3 separate regions of the Homo sapiens genome follow, and all the other regions are linked to region 3. Evidence: promoter capture Hi-C in 16 types of primary human blood cells and fetal thymus (Javierre and others, 2016). All regions are on one chromosome and are shown on one strand. Each heading gives the region's core, a stretch centred on a gene start or on the middle of the fragment in contact. The rest is flanking DNA. Distances are from core to core; before and after follow the strand shown.

Evidence for each region. Contacts are between HindIII fragments. The CHiCAGO score rates a contact against its expected background, and 5 or more counts as called.
Region 1: a fragment that was not itself captured here is called in contact with the fragment with the promoter of ATXN1L in region 3 in 3 of 17 cell types (activated CD4 T cells, total CD4 T cells and naive CD4 T cells); the score reaches 6.2 in activated CD4 T cells.
Region 2: a fragment that was not itself captured here is called in contact with the fragment with the promoter of ATXN1L in region 3 in 11 of 17 cell types (naive CD4 T cells, fetal thymus, activated CD4 T cells and 8 more); the score reaches 16.1 in naive CD4 T cells.

The regions. Positions count from the first base shown.
Region 1 is chr16:71,780,512-71,783,744 of GRCh38, forward strand. The region is part of intron 2 of AP1G1 (adaptor related protein complex 1 subunit gamma 1); the gene reads right to left. Among named protein-coding and RNA genes, the nearest start is that of SNORD71, 24 kb to the left of the region's middle. The HindIII fragment of the contact is 1,720 bases long and covers 683-2,402 here.
Region 2 is chr16:71,805,961-71,809,074 of GRCh38, forward strand. AP1G1 (adaptor related protein complex 1 subunit gamma 1) reads right to left here and starts at 2,874. Exons shown (of 23, transcript NM_001128.6): 1 at 2,803-2,874. It overlaps LOC124903714 (a long non-coding RNA gene), which reads left to right and starts at 2,998. Exons shown (of 2, transcript XR_007065110.1): 1 at 2,998-3,114. RefSeq lists enhancers at 2,005-2,652, 2,596-3,114. The HindIII fragment of the contact is 1,723 bases long and covers 1,004-2,726 here.
Region 3 is chr16:71,844,646-71,847,936 of GRCh38, forward strand. ATXN1L (ataxin 1 like) reads left to right here and starts at 1,331. Exons shown (of 3, transcript NM_001137675.4): 1 at 1,331-1,459. RefSeq lists enhancers at 403-1,175, 909-958, 1,176-1,947, 1,749-1,818 and a silencer at 1,219-1,528. The HindIII fragment of the contact is 5,556 bases long and covers 1-1,873 here.

The sequences.
Region 1 (3,233 bases), core at 293-2,792, 64 kb before region 3:
AAAAAATTGCAGCTTTATGATATGAACAATCACCTTAATGAAAACATGCAATTGAAATTCTGTAAATTTTAACAGGCCTGCAACTGATTGGGTAGACCTTTTTAAAAGTCACCTTTATTTATTTTATTTTTTTGTTTAGAGACAGGTCTTGCTCTATCGCCCAAGCTGAAGTACAATGGCATGATCACAGTTCACTGTTAGTTCACAGTTAGTAACCTCTAACTCTTGGGCTCAGGCCATCCTGCTGCCTCAGCCTCCCAAGTAGCTACAACTACAGGCATATGCCACCACATGAGGCTAATTTTTTACTTTTTTTTTTTTTTTTGAGCTGGAGTCTCACTCTGTCGCCCAGGCTGGAGCGGGGTTTCACCGTATTGCCCTGGCTAGTGTCAAACTCCTGAGCTCAGGCCATCCGCCTGCCTCAGCTTCCTAAAGTGCTGGAATTACATGCATGAGCCACTGTACCCTACCCTAACTTTTTACTTTTGTAGAGATGAGGTCTCACTATGTTACCTGGGCTGGTCTTGAATTCCTGTCCTCAAACGATCCTTCTGCCTTGGCCTCCCAAAGTGCTGGGATTATAGGCATGGGGCACCATACCCAACCTATTTCTTTTTAATATTCAGAAATAACTGCCTGGTTTATACACACACACACCTAAAATCATCATTTTTGAAAAGCAAGCTTGTTACAACTGCACTACCACTATGTAGGCCTGACAACATAAAATCTATATAGACCAGAGTCTGTTTCTTCATTCTTCTGGCAGAAAAACAAAAAACAAAAACCTGACATTCCTAGTGAATCCAATTTTTTCTTTTGAGAAAATTATGAAATATTCCACTCAAAATACATAAAAATCACGTAACTGTCACTGACACACCAAGCAGCTTTATCAAATCTTAACATTTCACCCTATTTATTTTACATTACAAATTCAAATGAAGTCTTCTGTGTACTGGGCCTCAATCTCATTTCTCCATCCCAGAAGTAATCAGAACCCTAAACTGCTGCTCATGACTGCCATGCCATATATTCTTACTACACATGGAGAGACAGGTGGTTTTAAATGTTTTAAACTTTAAACAAATATCAAACTGTATTCCCGCTCTTTTCACTCAACAGCTTTGAGTATTACTCACATCAAGACAAGAAGATCTAATTCAGTCATAACTCACTGCTACATAGTATCCCACTTTTGAATATAAACTTACCTATTATCTGAGGACAAACAGATTGTTTGCAATGTTTTACCTATTAGAAACACTGCTGAAATGAATACTCTTATACATACATGTCTTTGTATACTGGAAAATTTATCTAGGTTATATACCTAAGGAGGCTTGATCAAATTCAGACTTTTCAGGTTTTGCTTTGTTCTGTTGTGATCTCATTTTGCAAATATGCACCACTTAGAGCCAGTGGTATGAACTTTCACCAGGAGGCGTATAATTATTTCTGGTAGTCGTCTCTCTTTTGTGACATTAGCAGCAACTGACGATCATCATGGGTTGCAAAATGATTAGATTCTAATTCATTCCTTCATTTATTAGTTGGACTACAGCTCTAAGAAGAAACTTCTCTATACAGAAGGAAGGCCATACTATTGCTAAGGAAAGGCAATATAAACGTTTATTTCAATCAATTGCAATTATTATCCTTTTTTTATTGACACAGAGTCTCACTCTGCCAACCAGGATGGAGTGCAGTGGCACGATCTCGCCTCACTGCAACCTCCGCCTCCCAGGTTCAAGTGATTCTCAAGCCTCAGCCTCCGGAATACCTGGGATTACAGGTATCTGCCACCATGCCCGGCTAATTTTTGTATTTTTAGTAGAGATGGGGTTTCACTATGTTTGTCAGGCTGGTCTCGAACTCCTGAGCTCAAGCAATCTGCCCGCCTCAGCCTCACAAAAGACTGAGATTACAAGTTTAGTCACCGCACCCAGCCTACAATTATTATTATTATTATTATTATTTTTATTATTATTTTGAGATGGAGTCTCGCTCTGTTGCCCAGGGTGGAGTGCAGTGGCGCAGTCTTGGCTCACTGCAACCTCCACCTCCCGGGTTCAAGCGATTCTCCTGCCTCAGTCTCCTGAGTAGCTGGGATTAATAGGCGCCTGACACCACACCTGGTTAATTTTTGTATTTTTAGTAGAGACAGGGTTTCATCATGTTGGCCAGGATGGTATTGAACTCCTGACCTCGTGATCTGCCTGCCTCGGCCTCCCAAAGTGCTGGGATTACAGGTGTGAGCCACCATGCCCAGCCGATTATTATTCTTATTAATACTCAAATTATCTCTTTTGGGGGTATGACTGCCTCTTCTGGTGATTACTGAAACCTTCTGACATGATCTTTGCAGTCTTTCTTGCTTTCTGGCATAGTAACATCATTCAAGCTTATTTTGTACATTTCCTTACCCTGGATTTGGGATCAGCCATCTTTCCAATGGGCTGAAAATAGTATCTGGAGACCACAGTCTAGGCTTAAGGATAGCTCATTGCTTCTGGTCTGGTCATTAATTCTAAGGCTTTTCAAGGAATAGTACTAGCTTAAGTACTTTATTTTAAGAAAAAAATTCCTTAATGTGAGAAAGCGTGTCTACTAAACCCTATGACAGTCACCCACATATTACTGTAGAGCATTTGTTTACGGCTTTAACAAGAGTGGCTATTATCATCACTTATTTGCAATAATGTACTACCTGTACAGTGTAATAAGAAAATAAGAAAATGTATAAGGATATCAAAGGAAAAAAAAGAACTGCCATTGTTTGCAGACAATAGTAGTATTGACTACATGGAAACAATGACGTCCACAGAGACTCTTAGAACCAAGTTCAATAATGTGGCAAAGTAGATAAATATTATTAAAAATCAATTATATCACTACAGATCTACAACATAATTATTTAAAATTTTAAAGGATACTATTTGCAACAGAAACAAGAGCTCTAAAGAACCTACAAATATATTTCTCCAAAGATGTGTTAAGACTTAAAAATCCTGTGTTTTAAAGGAAATTTTTTTTTAATTTTTTAAAAAGATGTATAAGACTGTACAGAAAACATTGTAAAATTTAGAGAAGCTAAAGAAGTGCAGTCCTATGCTACACAGATGGAAGGGAAGAATATCCTACACAGGTAATTGGGTATGGCAAGCAAGGCTAGAACTGAGGAAAAACAGAATCAGGCCCAGCCTAAAAGCAGCACACTACTGACATATGGA
Region 2 (3,114 bases), core at 615-3,114, 38 kb before region 3:
CAGTGAGCTGAGACCACTGCACTCCAGCCTGGGCAACAGAGTGAGACCCTGTCTCAAACAATAAAAATAATAAAAAAAAAAAAAAAGAGTTTTTATAAATCATAAAGAAGTTGGTTTTGTTTGCATACCACTGATTTTTAAAACTCCTTTTTTAAATAAACACTGGGGTGAAATATCACCAAGGCATTCCTGGCAAATTCTGTACTTTAAAGTTTCACTCTAAAATCTGCCCTCAAATCTAGAACTGCTATCAATGACAGAGGTCAGACCAAAGAACAAGCAACTGCCCCCAAAAGAAAACGGAGGTTTCCTAAACGCAAAGCAGACATTCAAATATGCACTGATCAATGGTGCACTAAACAACACTTTGCTAGGAATTTGTTAAGGCAAAAGGACCCTTTCTACAGTGAATGCAAACTATCTAAGAATGAATTTTTAAAAGTTTAATATTTTTAAATATTTTGGTAGAGACGGAGTCTCATTAGGTTGCCCAGGCTGGCCTCCAACTCCTGGGCTCAAGGGATCCACCTTCCACCTCCCAAAGTGTTGGGATTACAAGCATGAGCCACTGAGCGCCCGCCTGAATGACATTTAAATACCAATATATTAAAGCATGAAAAACACTGAGTTAACTAACATCTATGTGATAGCTCTTCTAACACCTTACTTGAAAAGTCTAAGTCAGAAATGGAACATTTCAGTAGTAACTGCGAGGGCATACTTACTAAATGAGTGAGCATTACATAGGTGTTCAGTGTTTGACAGTTCCTTTAAACCAAAAGAGAAAATTCCATTGCTTCAGGGTAATACAGAACTCACGTATCTAATAGTAACTAATATATTTTTGAAAAATCTGCTTAAATAACAAGATCACTGAGTATTTAAACTGAAAATATTGTTTTCTTCTGAGACATCATATGACCTATAGAGGAATTTATCTACAATCTCATTTCAATAACCTGATAATAATAATGCATCTATAAGTGGCTTAGCAATATTAAAAAGCTTGACTCAATTCAAGTTATAAATTTAAACTTCAACCACTAGACTGTGATCTCAAATAAGTTAATTTCTCTTTTGCAGATGTGAAAACCCAGGCTGAGATGAAATAAGGGTGATTCAATCACACTCGCCTAACTTGAAACGTAGGAAATGTATCAGTGAATAACTGTGAAATACTTTTTGCCAGGCACGGTGGCTCACGCCTGTAATCCTAGCACTTTGGGAGGCCGAGGCGGGCGGATTACCTGAGCTCAGGAGTTCGAGATCTGCCTGGGCAACATGATGAAACCCCATCTCTACTAAAATACAACAACAAAAAATTAGCCGGGCGTGGCGGCGTGTGCCTGTAGTCCCAGCTACTTGGGAGGCTGAGGCAGGAGAACTGCTTGAACCCGGGAGGCGTAGGTTGCAGTGAGCCGAGACCGTGCCACTGCACTCCAGCCTGGAGACAGAGGGAGACTTCGTCTCAAAAAATAAATAAATAAAAATAAAGACATACTTTTTATTCAAGCATGCTAGACTGCAAACATGCCTTTAGAATAAAAGTGACGAGATTACGAGTACTTAGAGGGTTCATATTTTTCAAACGTGAAAGTTAGGGTGTGTGACAAGTTAGGTATTTGACAAGTATTCTAGGGAACGGTGGAAGTGAATATTTAAAATTCAGCTATCCCCAGAAAAACCCAATACATGAAATCATTACAAGTATTTTTTAGAATCAGTCAGCAAAGATCATTACTGTACAAACACTTCAAAGTTAAGGTCACTAAGAAAGCACTAACTCCTCCCTTCTGTTAACTAATCACTGTAAAGCAGCCCAACTCTCCTTTCTACCTACCTCAGATTAATATTTTTCTCCATGGACAGATTTCCGTGCTCAGGGATATATAATAGGGGAGAAAAAAAAATACCACACAAGTGTCAGTAAGCACCAAAAAGCTAAGTATTCAGCACAGGGAGGGAATCCACATATGAGAAAACATTTGACAGCTCTTGCCTCCCAAAAGCCATTTAATCTGCTTCATAAACATAATCTGCTTCATAAACATTACCCTGAGCGAGTGGTTCGATGGATCTCCTACACCGAGTCCTAACCGGGAAACACAATCAACCGAACCGTCCCGACTCTTTCAGGCAATCAGGAAGACCGGGAGAATTATTAGACGCTGACGTCCGCAGGGCCAGGAGCTGAGAAAAGGGTAAACAGTATACTCGCAGGTAGGTTGAAAAAAACAAAACAACAACATATACACACACACACGAAAAATTGGGAAAGAAGTTGGTCGGAAGGTTAGAGAGAGGCGAGGCCGATGTCCGGTTCCGAGAGGACGGCACTGCAGGGGCAGGCAGCGATTAACTGGGCATTTGGATATGCTGGGAGTTATCTGACAGACCTGACACGGGTACAAGACACAAGAACGCTGATACGTGGCTCAGAGAAGACACGCGGGGGTGGGGCCCGCCCCGCTAAACCCCAGGCTCCCTGAATGAGCCCTCAAAGATCGCAGCCTGAGAAAGTCAAGGGTTCAAGGAGGCCCGTACCGGCGGGGCAACGCCACAACACGGAACGCCGCGGCGCGCGGAACCTCCCGGTCCGAGGCCTCGGGGTCGGCCCTCCAGAAGTCGGAGCAGCCCCTGGGGCTCCCGGCCTCTCCTGGCCCAGCTTCTCTGTCTTCTCTTCTCAACACCCACAGCCTGGGACTGGACCCCTGAAACTGAAAGGAAGCTTCCGGTCGAGCGCCCGCGGCAGCGGCGGGGCAAAAGCAGCAATATGCTCTCAGCGCCGGGAGTGACACTCACCGGCCCGAAACCTCGAATGAAACCAGCAGCTCCGGGGGCGGCGGCAGCAGTGGCAGCAGGAACCGAACATCCAAAATGGCGGCTCCCTCGGCCTCACCACCGCTACCGCAGGCGGAGGGATCCTGAGGAAGGAGGGAGTTTTTAACTAACTTCACACACTATTGAGGAAACTTCGCTCCCTGTCCTCCTCTCCTGGTCGTTTCCGTGTCCTCGTACTGCAACTTATCGTGCCTTTTCTCTCGAATTATCCAAGAACTCGGACCCTGCCGAGGACTATTTGCCAAGGAGGAGGCGACTGCTCCTGGCAGAGCG
Region 3 (3,291 bases), core at 81-2,580:
CTCCCGAGTAGCTGGGAGTACAGGTGCCCGCCACCATGCCCGGCTAATTTTCTGTATTTTTAGTAGAGACGGGGTTTCGCCGTGTTAGCCAGGATGGTCTGCGATCTCCTGACCTCGTGATCCGCCGGCCTTGGCCTCCCAAAGTGCTGGGATTGCAGGCGTGAGCCACCGCGCCTGGCCCAATTGTTATTTATTGAACAGAGTTTGAAGAAACTGAAAGTCTCCATTTCGGTGGCCAAAACCGCAATTACTTTTGCACCAACCTAATACTTTAAAACAAACAACAACAAAAACACAGTTGTTATTCAAACATAAATTCAACTGGCGCTCACTTTTGTCTTCACTTAAGTTAATCAGATGTTCATGTTACTATGAAGTTGACCAGTTAATTTGTAATGAATAATTAGTTAATTTGTAATGAATAATATTTCACTGAGTAGTCAAGCCCTCTTTCCACTAAACCAAGCTGCTTCTCACTGTACTAAACCCCGGGCTCTCTCTAAACTTTCAGGTGTTCCACTCCTTGTCACCTTCCCCTAGATCCTGAGTGGGGTTCACTCTTAGCTCCCTCGGGGGCCACTTCTCAACACTTACAGAGCTCCTATTGACCTGGCACGGTGGCTCACGCCTGTAATCCCAGCACTTTGGCAGGCCGAGGTGTGGGGATCACCTGAGGTCGGGAGTTCGAGACCAGCCTGACCAGCAAGGAGAAACCCTGTCTCTACTAAAAATACAAAAAATTAGCCAGGTGTGGTGGCGCATGCCTGTAATCCCAGCTACTCGGGAGGCTGAGATAGGAGAATTGCTTGAACCTGGCAGGCGGAGGTTGGGTGAGCCGAGATCGTGCCATTGCACTCTAGCCTGGGCAACAAGAGCGAAACTGTCTCCAAAAAAAAGAAAGAAAAGAAAAAAAGAAGACTTCCTATCTCCACCTGGGTCCCCAAGAGGTAAGAGGTATCTCCTTTTCTCCTGAGCCTAGGTCACCTCGGGGTCCCCCGAAGTTCCCCAGAAGGGGCTGCACAAGTCAGGACAAGAAGTCCAGGAAATGGGGGGTCGCCGATGACCACGCCCCGGGGCTCTGTTTGGGAACCCCCAAAATTTACTGAGGTGGAAAGATTGCGGGGTCATTGTGGGGTCAGGCTGAGGGGGCCGGGCCCAGCCCTATTCACGTGACCCGGTCCCAGGGAGAGGAGTTTGTTCACCCACCAGAGGGAACGCCCGACGCGAAGGCAGTGTGGCACCCTCCCTTCCCGGGGAGTCCTGGGCGTTGCTCTCCCACCCCGGCCGTGACGCAATCTCTCCGCGCCGGGGGCGGGACGAGCTTGACGCCATCTCCGGGCGCCCGGCTGTGGGGGGCGCTGGGTGTGGGGCGGCTCCGGGGCCGGGGATGGCGGCGGCCGCGGTTGCGGCGGCTCCGGGACGAGTGAGTGGATCCTGGGAAGCGCTGTGAAATGGGCTGGTGAGTGTCCCTGGAAGTGGTGGCCGCCGGGGCCAGGCAGGCCTGGGGTCGGTGCTCCGGAGGAAGTGGCCCTCAGGAGCCCGTTGCTCCGGCGGGCCGGGGCCCATGAACCGTGGACAGACGGAGGGGAGAGGCCGCACCTAGACCCCCTCGCGCTTCTCTCTGGCCTGTCCTGGAAGGTGGCCTCAGGCCCCGGCGCCCCGGAGGCTGTGTGCCTGCGAGCCAAGGTGTCCGAGTCTGTGGGGCGGGAAGGGCCCCCAAACAAGGAAGCGTCGCCTGCAGGGCCTCGCCCCTGCCCCCTTGGTGAAGGGTGGACCCCCTACTCTCTAAACGCAGAATTCCCAATTTCGAGCCCTACCCTTGTTGGATCAAGGATTGCGGGACCACTGGGAGCCATAACCGTAGTCTCTGACAAGCTTCTCCCTTTCTGTCGGGCGCACCTCTCGCCCGCAGAGAATTTGGGTCTCCAGCTGGGTTCAGCCCCTTGATTCCGACCCAAGCGTGATGAGGAGCTTGGTTCCGGGCTCTGCTAGCAGCGTTGGCAACTCTCCTGAACAGCCTGTTAGCTCGGTTGGGGTCACAAGCTGCGTTTTCCCTTTGAGATGCTCAGTGAGGTTCTCGAGAGGCGGAGGTTTCGGATTCTTAAGTGTGTTTTGCGTTGTGGGAACCTGGCGCACAGGCTTGGCTCTTTGTTTTCCTTTCTGCAGACCTTTTGCCTCTTTCGGTCCCTTTACTAGCCTGTGTTTGCTAACTTCTCGGTGACCTGGAGGCAGGTTTTCTTTAAAGTTTTCGTTACAGAAAGCAAGGATCATTTTGGGATTGAAGTGTGACCCCAGTTTCTGTTGGGAATGAAGAAGAAAGCAAGCTGCTTTTCAGTTATTAAAGCTGCTGGTGGAGAAAAGAGTCATTATTTATGCCACTGTGTAATAATATGTGTTTGTGGAATTAGGAATTTGTTTTCCCACTGTGTTTTCCTATCCTTCCACCTTTTGTGTACACCTGCACCTTGCCAATCTTAAGAGAGAAATGTTGCATTCGGTTTGGGTTGAGGCTTAGAGTGTTCTATAGGACTTGGACAGGATAGTCAGTTTCTCAGAGCACTCACTCATCTGTACTGCCTTCTCTGTTTTCAGAGGTTAAGGCTCCATTCTTTCTCGCTTTGCGTTTCTGGCAAGTGTAGATTCACATAGTGATGGTTTAGTGGTAGTTTTGTTTCACCAGTGTTAGCCAGCTGAGGACCAAGGCAATATTTTCAGTTTCTTTCATACCTGATTCAGCACTTGGTATACTGTCACTCAGAAAATTTTACATACACACACACATATGCTCATTTTTTTTTAACCCTGAAAATCTCTTAATAAGTCTTCTCCTTGAGTGACTCCCCCCTGACCTCTTTTTCTGCCCCAGAAACATAAATAATTGTTCTTTTTCATCTACTGCTGCTTTTTTTCATTTAAATAACTCCACATTTATGTTTTCATAGGCCCAGAATAAAGGGGAAATCCATAGAGTTGATTTTTCCTGCTTCCCATTGTTCATATGGGAACAGTGTTAAAGCTTCCATTTTTATTTGTGCGTTTATCTGAAATTTGGATTGGAGCAAATTTAACCTTTGGGGAACAGGCACAGGTAGATGTTAGGGAAATGATGTTACGGAAAACCAATGAAATTTGATACATGGAAATTTTTTTTCAGGGATGTCTTCTTACAAGTTGGAGCATTAGAGGTGTTTTTCTCTCTGTTCAACTGCCTGGGCACTCTGGGTAAATGTACTGTTTACCTGTGGAGAAGAAGATGAGGCAAGGACGTGTATACTCTAATGCTTTGGAATT